3 separate regions of the Homo sapiens genome follow, and all the other regions are linked to region 3. Evidence: promoter capture Hi-C in 16 types of primary human blood cells and fetal thymus (Javierre and others, 2016). All regions are on one chromosome and are shown on one strand. The core of a region is centred on a gene start or on the middle of the fragment in contact, and the rest is flanking DNA. Distances in the headings are between cores, read along the strand shown. Region 1 holds the start of CHKA (choline kinase alpha). Region 2 holds the start of NDUFS8 (NADH:ubiquinone oxidoreductase core subunit S8). Region 3 holds the start of PPP6R3 (protein phosphatase 6 regulatory subunit 3).

Region 1 (3,371 bases), core at 616-3,115, 340 kb after region 3:
CTTACTTTAGTGTCCCTTCCTCCTGGCCAGATTTCTGGCATTCCTTTGAGATTACCAGACTGGTGCCAGGGGACAGTGGGACAAAGGGCTTGTCACCTGGGCAGGCCATTGGCATGGCCCCACCTCCCTGTGAGCCGGTATTTTTAGAGAAAGTCCTTGGCTCCTTTATCCAAACGGCCTCCCCAGATTGAAGCCCTTGGCTTCTCAGCCTTTCAAACATCCAGTGGCCGGCCTCCGTCCCAGGGGCCTTGGTCTCTCCTACCTCCCTGCAGGTCAACTTCCAGGCCTGTCGCCACAGCAGCCTTACAAAAGTCCCCTTTCATTTTTATCCTTAAATAAGACCATTTTGCGTGGAGCAAGTTCAGCCAAGTACACACTCTAAAAGATTTTTGCGGCCGGGCGCGGTGGCTCACTCCTGTAATCCCAGCACTTTGGGAGGCCGAGGCGGGCGGATCACGAGGTCAGGAGATCGAGACCATCCTGGCTAACACGATGAAACCCCGTCTCTACTAAAAATACAAAAAAAAAAAAAAAAAAAAAAAAAAAATTAGCCAGGCGTCGTGGCGGGCGTCTGTAGTCCTAGCTACTCGGGAGGCTGAGGCAGCAGAATGGCGTGAACCCGGGAGGCGGAGGTTGCAGTGAGCCGAGATCGTGCCACTGCACTCCAGCCTGGGCGACTGAGCAAGACTCCGTCTCAAAAAAAAAACCAAAAAACATTTTTGCTTCTGGAAGACTGTGAACTCCCCACATAGAAGCATTTCCTGTGTATCAGGCACTGGATTTCCTAAGCCCCTGGCAGCCCAGGAAACCTCCTGTTTCAGCTCATGTCCCATAAAATGGGATCCATAATTTTTATATGTATCAGCACCTCACTTCTAGGAAGGACGGGAGCAGTGAGGGACATGGGGCAGTGTGTGGCAAACGGTAGCAGGGGCCCTTGCCCCTCTACCCCGGCAAAGGTGCGTTAGTCACGGTCACAAGGCTGTTTCCTGCGGGGGATGGGGAGGCAGGGGCAGCGTCCACAACGCCAGTAGCCCCGTGGCACGCACCTTTGGCCTGTGCTCTGGGCAGTTGCGGCGGCCCCATGGCGGGGATGATGCCCCTCCCTCGACGGTCCCTGGGCCTCCAGCCCTGAACTTCTAGGCCCGAGCATCCTCAGTACCACGGACAGGGAAACTGAGGCTGCGGGAGGCGTGCAGAGGGCTGGGCCCCGGTAGCCGGCGTGCAGCCGGGCCCAGCCTGGCCCACCGTGTGGCCTCGAGCCCGTCACCTCTTCCCTCCTTCAGACCTCGGTTTCTTAGTAATTCTTCGGGCTCCGCGTTGGACAGGGCGAGACGCGCCTGTGGCAGCGCTGGGAAATGTTACAAAATCACACCCACTGAGCCCCAGGAGGAGGCTGCTCGCCCAAGGTCACGCGGAGAGGGCAGTAGCCTCCAGACACGTTTCCTGCCTGCCCCTGCCAGGCCCGGCCTCTGATGTCACGGGGCTTCCGAGGGGTCCAAGGAAACTTTCAGCTCCCAAAGCCAACCCCGGGGTCCTCCGAGGCTCAGGAGCCTCCCTCGCTCGGCCCAGTCCGGCTCCGTCCCACCGCGGAGGCGCTCTCCCGGCGCCCCCCGCGCCTCGCTCCCCTCTCCCCCTTCCCTGCGACCGCCGGGGCGCCCCCTCGACGCCCCGCCCCCTTCGCCCAGGCCCCGCTCACGGAGGCCGCAGCGCTCTGGGTTGGGGGCGGCGCCGCAGCCAATGGGGAGGCGGTGTGGCGAGGGCGGCGGCGGTTATGATGCGCCGGGCCGGCGGACGGCGGCCAATCAGTGGCGAGCGCGAGGGCGGGCTGTGACGCGGCCGGCGCTCCTCGTGCGGCGGCGGCAGAGGAGCGAGTGCAGCGGCCAGCAGCACATCCCCGCTCCACAGTCGCCGCAGTCGCCGCAGCCGCCGCCGCCGCCCCGCGCGCCCAACCGCCGCGGCCCCCTGCCCCGCCGGCCTGCCAGTGAGAGAGCGGCGAGGGGGCGCCCGGCCGGACTCTGAGCCTAGTCCTCTCGCGCTGCGGCCGCCCGCGCCTCCTCGGCCGCCTGTCGGGCATGAAAACCAAATTCTGCACCGGGGGCGAGGCGGAGCCCTCGCCGCTCGGGCTGCTGCTGAGCTGCGGTAGCGGCAGCGCGGCCCCGGCGCCCGGCGTGGGGCAGCAGCGCGACGCCGCCAGCGACCTCGAGTCCAAGCAGCTGGGCGGCCAACAGCCGCCGCTCGCGCTGCCCCCTCCGCCGCCGCTGCCGCTGCCGCTGCCGCTGCCCCAGCCCCCGCCGCCGCAGCCGCCCGCAGACGAGCAGCCGGAGCCCCGGACGCGGCGCAGGGCCTATCTGTGGTGCAAGGAGTTCCTGCCCGGCGCCTGGCGGGGCCTCCGCGAGGACGAGTTCCACATCAGTGTCATCAGGTCGGTGGCGCCGGGTCTGGGGGCCGCGGGACAGTCAGGTGACGCGGGGCGGGGCCGGGGCGGGGTCCGGGCAGGGGGCGTGGGCCGGGGGGGTCGGGGGCCGGGGGAGCCGGGGCCGGGGCGGAGGCCGGGGACCGGGGACCGCAGCCGGCGAAAGCCCTCCTTCTCCCAGCCCTGGGTAATCCAAGGGAAGCGGGTTCGCGGCCGCCGCAGGCCGTCCACAAACAGGCTTTTGTAAAAACGTCGGTTTCATGAGAAAACGGGTCTGTTCTAGGAGAACAATACCGTTCCATCACGAAGTGCGTGTGGTACTGACGCTTAAGATAGGTCTAGAAAGTCTCTGCGGTTTAGGGCCTTGAATGAAGGTGTTGTGGCTGGCTTTAAAAACACAAACCACTTTTTAACTTTTTTCTGTTAGTTTTTCGAGTTCGCGATTTGATGTCTTGTTCCCTCTCCAAGAGTCATTGTTAGTGGAGGAGTAGCATTTTCTCATCCCCTAAGAGACATCACTATAGCTGTGTTACTAGACAAAGGTGGGAGGCGTGGCTCCTAAAATAAGAGTAAGGTAGAAATGTTTTTTCCTTTTTTTTTTTTTTTTGAGACGGAGTTTCGCTCTTGGTCCCCAGGCTGGAGTGCAGTGGCGCGACCTCGGCTCACTGCAACCACGGCCTCCCGTGTTCAAGCGATTCTCCTTGCCTCAGCCTCCCGAGTAGCTGGGATTACAGACACACGCCACCACGCCCGGCTAATTTTGTATTTTTAGTAGAGACAAGGTTTCTCCATGTTCGTTAGGCTGATCTTGAACTCCCGACCTCAGGTGATCCACCCGCTTCGACCTCCCAAAATGTTGGGATTACAGGCATGAGCCACCGCGCTCGGCCATTTTTTCCTTTTTTTAAACTTGAAAATATTTAATCTTAAATTTGAATTACAGAAGTACGCGTGT
Region 2 (2,805 bases), core at 281-2,780, 430 kb after region 3:
CCTGCACGTGCAGCCTGGGCCAGGGCCCGCAGCAGCATAGGCGTGGTCAGGCAGCGCATCTGGTGGCATAAAAAGGGATGGAGGGTGGGGTGTGCCCAAGAACCATCCTCTTCTGAGACTGGCACCGCAAGGATCCCAAGTCTCCACTGACATGTGTCACTTTGCCCTCTACTCGCACCCCATTGCTGTCAGAGGCACAGATGGCTTTCCTGTTCCCAGCGCCTCCCAGCTTTCCATCTGATTCAGCTTGGCTGAGCTACAATTCAGTTTCTGTGGACCCCAAGTTCTGCCTCACCTAAGAAACCTTTTAAATCCATCCTTCCTTTCTCCCTCCCAGAGATCCTGTTTCCCACCTTTCTGCTCCTCCCTTCATCCTCCCCAAATCTAACCAAAAACAACATTACCAGCCCCCGCCAGCATGCACTGAGAGCGAACTTTGTTAGCTCTCCTCCCCCAGGAACCGTGCCCAGGGGTGGAAAGCGCTGCCATCCTATCCTTACAAGGACTCCACGAGGGAGGCACAAATAAGGCGCTGGGACTCAGTTTGTTGAGTGACTCGCTAGGGCTGGGTGTGGTGGCTCACGCCTGTAATCCCAGCACTTTGGGAGGCTGAGGCAGGTGGATCACCTGAGGTCAGGAGTTTGAGACCAGCCTGGCTAACATGGTGGAACCCCGTCCCTACCAAAAAATACAGAAATTAGCCAGGTGTGGTGGTGGGCACTTATAATCCCAGCTACTCGGGAGGTTGAGGTAGGAGAATCGCTTGAACCCAGGAGGCAGAAGTTGCAGTGAGCCCAGACTGCACCACTGCCCTCCAACCTGGGCGACAGAGTGAGACCTTGTCTCAAAAAAAAGATAAAAAAGTGACTTGTCGGAAGTCACACGATAAGGAGGTGGGCCGAGGATCGGAACCCAGCCCTGCCCTGCTGGAAACTCTTCAAGGCCTGAACAGTCCTCGGTACCACATTCCTTTCCCCAGCTTCAAGGCCCTCCTGGAACTGTCCCCCAGCCTGCCGCGTGACCTTGGGCAGATGATGTGACCTGACCTCCGTCTTCTCACCTATGAAGTGGGTTGGGGGCGGTTGGTCTTGGGAATTAGGGGAGCCCGTACATGCCAAGGGCACCCCAGAGCCCGGCACTTAGCCGGCGCTCATAAGAGCTCATCCCACGACCTGTGAACCCCCTAACAGGCCCACTCCTTTGGATCACTGACTGCAGTTCCAGGGACCCAACCCAGCACCTTCCCCACCTTCCCAGTGATCTCCGACCCTAACTAGGCCGGTGGCGCAGAGCGGGCGGCGCATGCGCCCTGAGAGCCGGCTCCCCGCTGCACCTGAAGGACACGGAGGCCGCGGATCCTGAGTGAGCCGAGGGGAAGCCCAGGCGCAGAGCTGGCGGCGCCAACGGGGACACCACACTCGCCCCCGACGCCACGCTGCCCAAGCCCGACTTTCACGGCCAAAACGTGAACACCCACCTTGAAGCGCCGCCGCTACTTGCCTTGCCAAGCAGGCCAGTCAATCGGGAGGCGGAGGCTACACTGTAGGACGCTGCCATTGGGCCAGCGGGTTCCCCCTTTTCTGTATTGATGCTTCATGGTGTGGTCTGATTGGCCAGCAAGGCTGCTGAAAGAGGCGGGATTCAGAAATATCTTTCTTTTGATTGGCTAGGAGAGACCGGCGCTTGAAGTTTGTAGGGGGCCGCCATGTTGGTTTGGGGAGGCCAATAAGTGAAGACCTCCGAGCCGCTGGAGGCGGGACATCCGGGGCGTGGTTTAGAAAGAGTGCTTTCGCCGTGGGTGCAGAGGGTGGGCCCGCCGGGTTGGGTGGGGGGCGTGTGATGACGGTAATGGCGACGAGATGCTCAACTCACGCGGCCTCTTTTAATCCTCACAGCAGCTCTGCGTGGAGAAACTACAGTAACGTGTTACCACGTTAAGGCGGGAAGCTGAGGCATGGGAGTATTTAGTAACGTTCCCGGGCCGTAGAGCTGCGGTGTGCGGCCGCCTGATCCACCTGATCTGTATGACTCCCGTACTCAACCAGCCTATGTTTCCTACCAGCGAATTTTTTTTTTTTTTTTTTTTTTTTTCTTTTTTTGAGACAATCTGGCTCTGTGGCTCAGGCTGGAATGCAGTGGTGCGATCTCGGCTCACTGCAGCCTCGACCTCCCAGGCTCGGGTGATCCTCACTTCTCAGCCTCCCGAGCAGCTGGAACCACAGTCGCCTGCCACCACCAGGCTCGGCTAATTTTTGTATTTTTTGTAGAGACGGGGTCTCGCCATGTTGCCCAGGCTGGTCTGGAACTCCTGGACTCAGGCGATCCTCCTGCCTCGGCCTGCCAAAGTGCTGGGATTACAGGCGTGAGCCACCACGCCGGGCCTTTCCCCGGGAATGCTGTGGTAGAGGGACCCGCAGAGGCCCCGAGGCTGCCTGCATGTGTGTGTTGGGAGGATCTGCGCTGAGGGTAGGTAGGAGTTGGGCAGGCCAGGACAGGAAGGAGGCAGAGGGCATGTCCCATGCCCGTGCAGAGGGAGGACACGCATGGTAGACCAGGACGAGGACAAGGGCAGGCTCAGTGTGTGCAAAGGGGACAGTGGTTTGGGATTTGCATGCAGATGCCCGAGCCTCCAAAGGACCTGTGGGCCACAGGGAGACCCTGGGGGAGTTCAAGCTGAGGAGTGGAGAGGGCTTTGGGCTGGTCAGCAGGTGCTCAGAGGAGAGGGGCTGGCCCTAGAGAGAAGGGAGGTCTTGGGATGGTGGCCCACACCTGACCCTGGCCCTTCATCAGGTGATTCCTGCGTGG
Region 3 (3,300 bases), core at 497-2,996:
AACTAGTATCCAAAAGCACATGAGGAACAAAGCCCGACTTAAGCTTGTGATGGGCTTTTCTGTATTTAACCATCTCTTTAAACATTATGAGGCGCTACTACTCATTAATTACTCCGGTAAATGTTCCTAATTTAAGGAATGGTCAAAAACCCTGTCCTGAAAAAATTAAAATAACTTATAGTTTTACTTTTTCAGCCCAACTGAGTCTTACACAGAGCTTTCTAAAGGCAGTCACCAAGAGTCGGGACTCAAATGCTCATCTGACTTCCCAATAGTACCTAAACATTTAAAAATCAAATTTAAATTAAACAATAATAGCCATTAACTAGCCTAACCACTAATCAGCCACTGAGGTGACTGTATGTGCCAGGCACAGCTCTAGCTGTTTTACATGTATTAGGGCAATTATCCTGACAAACTTATGGCTGGGACACTTATTATTATTCCCATACTACAGAGAAAAAAAAAGAGAAGCTGGGTAACTTGCCCAAGGTCACAGAGCTAAAAAGTGGTCACTGACTCCACTCCACAGTGAGGAAAACCCAACCACCACCATAACTGGGTCTCATACACTTGCTACTTGAGGCACAGTTCGGTGGTTGGAAACCTGGAGTCCCTGTCCCCCTTGAAGCCTATCTGCAACATGACCTTGAGGACAAAATCAAAGTAAACGTCCCACGAATAAAGGACACCACCCCGTCAACAAGTGCTGCGAGGATGAAAGGGAACGCCTGTCAAGCACCCCCTCCCATAAAAGCAAAACAGACCCAAAGCCCCACAGAGAAAACGTGAAGTACCAGGAAAATGACATTAAGTCACGCGGTTGAAACGTCAGGGCACGGAGGTACATCCAAAGACCCATCCCGTTCACCTATAATTAAAAAGTCTAAATTGTGATCACAGCCAGCAGGACCTCAACAGGAAACACCTCCAAGTAAACAGTGAATGGGCTTCTTTAAGAGGGAGGGACTTCAAGCCACAAGAAGGACCACCCACCCCCCCCACCCCCGGCTCAAATACACCAGGGAGGCATTCGAGACAGTTTACATACAAGCCACCTCACAGGAGTTAAAAAGCCACTGGGAAGGGTACTGGGAGCCTCGGAACTGGCTGGTGTGGATCCCGATGACTCTGCGGCGAATTAACAGAAACCCACAAAACTTGTTTCCCGAAGAGCAGAGTCCAACAATGGTCTTCGCGACTCTTGACGGCGAGTTGCTGCCTCAACTTGACGCGCTCCCCGAGGCCCCCGGGAGGCCCAGCGGGAGCGGAGACCGGGCGCGGGCCGGGCGGGGGGCGAGACTGCGGGCCGCGGCCGGCGGGCGGGAAGGCTGGAGCCAGAGCCGGGTCAGGGGCGCGCCTCGCCCGCCCGCCGCGCCAGGCCGCGAACGTCAACGAGGCACAAAGTCGCCGCCCCGACCGCGTCCCGCTCCCGGCGCCCGTCCTGGCGGGGCCCCCGGCTAACAGGAGCGGACGGGGAGCGGCCGGGAAGGACTCGGCGCCGCGCCTCCCGGGCCCGCGGAGCGACGAATTCCGGGGGGGGAGGGGAGAGGGGCCGGGACGTTCCCTCCCTGAGCCGCTGAGGCCAGGTGGAGGGGCCCCGCGCCTGCCCGCGCGCCTCGCACACCCCGCGCCGCGGCCTGCTCCGGCGCCTCCCCTACCCCCATTACCTGGAGGTGCCCACGACCCGCCGCTAGTTGCGCTCAGGCGGGAAACGCGCTCACCGACACCATCAGCGAAGCGCCCAAAATGGCGGACGTATCAAGCAGGCCTTGAGTTCCCCCCCGCCCGCCCTCTGGCCGCCTCTCAGCCAATCGCGGCCCTGCCCCCGCCCCCAGCTCCAGGCTCATTGGCCCCTCTCTCCCGCCCCCTACTACCTATTGGATCGCCTAGCGGCTCCTTTGACTACATTCCGATTGGCCCGCAAGCCTCGTCAGTCAAGCGCGAGGGGCGCATTCTTTTCCCATGGACTTGACGGATCCGGAACCTCTAGGACCCCGGAGCCTGAGAAACAAATCAGAAACGGGGAGAAACCTGGCTGGGACCCCCTACGCCGTAGCAACAGCAGGTCCTCCGCTTGACGGACGCTTCGGACCACCAATCCGAGTGGCCAATGCTTTTTAAAACTAAATTGAGCCAAGCCCATCATGGCCGTGGAGCCGGAGCCGTGAGGGATCCAATAGGGTGGCGAGCTGGCCGGGCGGGGCGGGGGCGGCGGGGGACACCGGTGGTGACGTGAGCCACAATATGCGCCGGCTGCAAAGGTTAGGCCGGGCTAGGGAATCAGCTTAAGTGGAGGAGCGTTCGTTTAGTATGTGAGAGGTAACGGGATCGATGCCTGCATTCTCCACAGGGGAATTTTTATCAGAATGATTTCCCATTGCGATCTCTTTACCTGAAAGAGGTGGCTGTCCTCGTAGCGGGGTCAAGGTGAGGGATCGCGGAATATCCCTACCTGTGACGCACCGCCAAGAGATAAGTGCCCTTGTCCTGGGAGAAGGACTTAGACGAGAACTTTTGGGGTTTGGTTTTGTTTGAGACGGAGTTTCCCTGTTGTCCCCCAGGCTGGAGTGCAGTGGTGCGACCTCAGCTCATTGCAACCTCCGCCTCCCAGGTTCAAGCAGTTCTGTCTCAGCCTCCCGTGTAGCTGGGATTACAAGTGCACGCCACCATGCCCGGCTAATTTTTGTATTTTTAGAAGAGACGGGTGTTTCACCATGTTGGCCAGGCTGGTCTCGAACTCCTGACCTCAGGTGATCCGCCCACCTCAGCCTCCCAAAGTGCAGGGGTTATAGGGGTGAGCCACCGCGCCTGGCCTGGGGTCTTTTTTGAGACAAGGTCTTGCTCTGTTGTCCAGGCTGGAGTGCAGTGGGGTGATCATGACTCACTGCAGCCTCCACCTCCTGGGCTCAAGCAGTCCCCCCACCTCAGCCTCCCGAGTAGCTGGGACCATAGGCACGCACCACTGGGCCCCGCTAATTTAATTTTTTTGTAGAGACAGGGTTTCCCTGTGCACACGAGCTTCTAAATGCTCCCCCGGGCTTCCCGTTCCCCGCCATATCTGTGCCTCCCAGGTAGGACCGAGGTCCCGGACATCAGGACCCCCGCCCCAAGAGCCAGCCCAGGACACCGAGACAGCCCACGGTTAGACCCCATGCTAATAACCTGCCTTATTCCAAAATGGATTTGAGGCGCCTCTCAGAGTCCCATGAAAATCCACAGGAGGTCACGGCGCGGTCACGCCTGTAATCCCAGCACTTTGGGAGGCGGAGGCGGGTGGATCACGAGGTCAGGAGATCG

What was found. Contacts are between HindIII fragments. The CHiCAGO score rates a contact against its expected background, and 5 or more counts as called.
Region 1: a contact is called between the fragment with the promoter of CHKA here and the fragment with the promoter of PPP6R3 in region 3, in 5 of 17 cell types (total B cells, M0 macrophages, fetal thymus and 2 more). The highest score is 12.2, in total B cells.
Region 2: a contact is called between the fragment with the promoter of NDUFS8 here and the fragment with the promoter of PPP6R3 in region 3, in 10 of 17 cell types (total B cells, naive B cells, neutrophils and 7 more). The highest score is 12.4, in total B cells.

The regions. Positions count from the first base shown.
Region 1 is chr11:68,119,882-68,123,252 of GRCh38, reverse strand. It overlaps CHKA (choline kinase alpha), which reads left to right and starts at 1,865. Exons shown (of 12, transcript NM_001277.3): 1 at 1,865-2,425. The coding sequence starts at 2,076. CHKA-DT (CHKA divergent transcript) reads right to left here and starts at 1,365. Exons shown (of 4, transcript NR_183630.1): 1 at 1,050-1,365. RefSeq lists silencers at 1,011-1,110, 1,461-1,890, 2,461-2,590 and enhancers at 360-1,126, 1,127-1,892, 2,741-2,870, 3,011-3,140. The HindIII fragment of the contact is 18,960 bases long and covers 1-3,371 here.
Region 2 is chr11:68,029,406-68,032,210 of GRCh38, reverse strand. NDUFS8 (NADH:ubiquinone oxidoreductase core subunit S8) reads right to left here and starts at 1,530. Exons shown (of 7, transcript NM_002496.4): 1 at 1,478-1,530; 2 at 2-59. The coding sequence starts at 59. It overlaps GLTC1 (glycolysis associated regulator of LDHA post-transcriptional modification 1), which reads left to right and starts at 1,777. Exons shown (of 4, transcript NR_197583.1): 1 at 1,777-1,918; 2 at 2,791-2,805. RefSeq lists enhancers at 1,324-1,503, 1,495-1,789. The HindIII fragment of the contact is 7,666 bases long and covers 1-2,805 here.
Region 3 is chr11:68,459,198-68,462,497 of GRCh38, reverse strand. It overlaps PPP6R3 (protein phosphatase 6 regulatory subunit 3), which reads right to left and starts at 1,746. Exons shown (of 24, transcript NM_001164161.2): 1 at 1,671-1,746. RefSeq lists silencers at 1,286-1,395, 1,446-1,495, 1,506-1,875, 2,186-2,335 and an enhancer at 2,016-2,075. The HindIII fragment of the contact is 4,553 bases long and covers 46-3,300 here.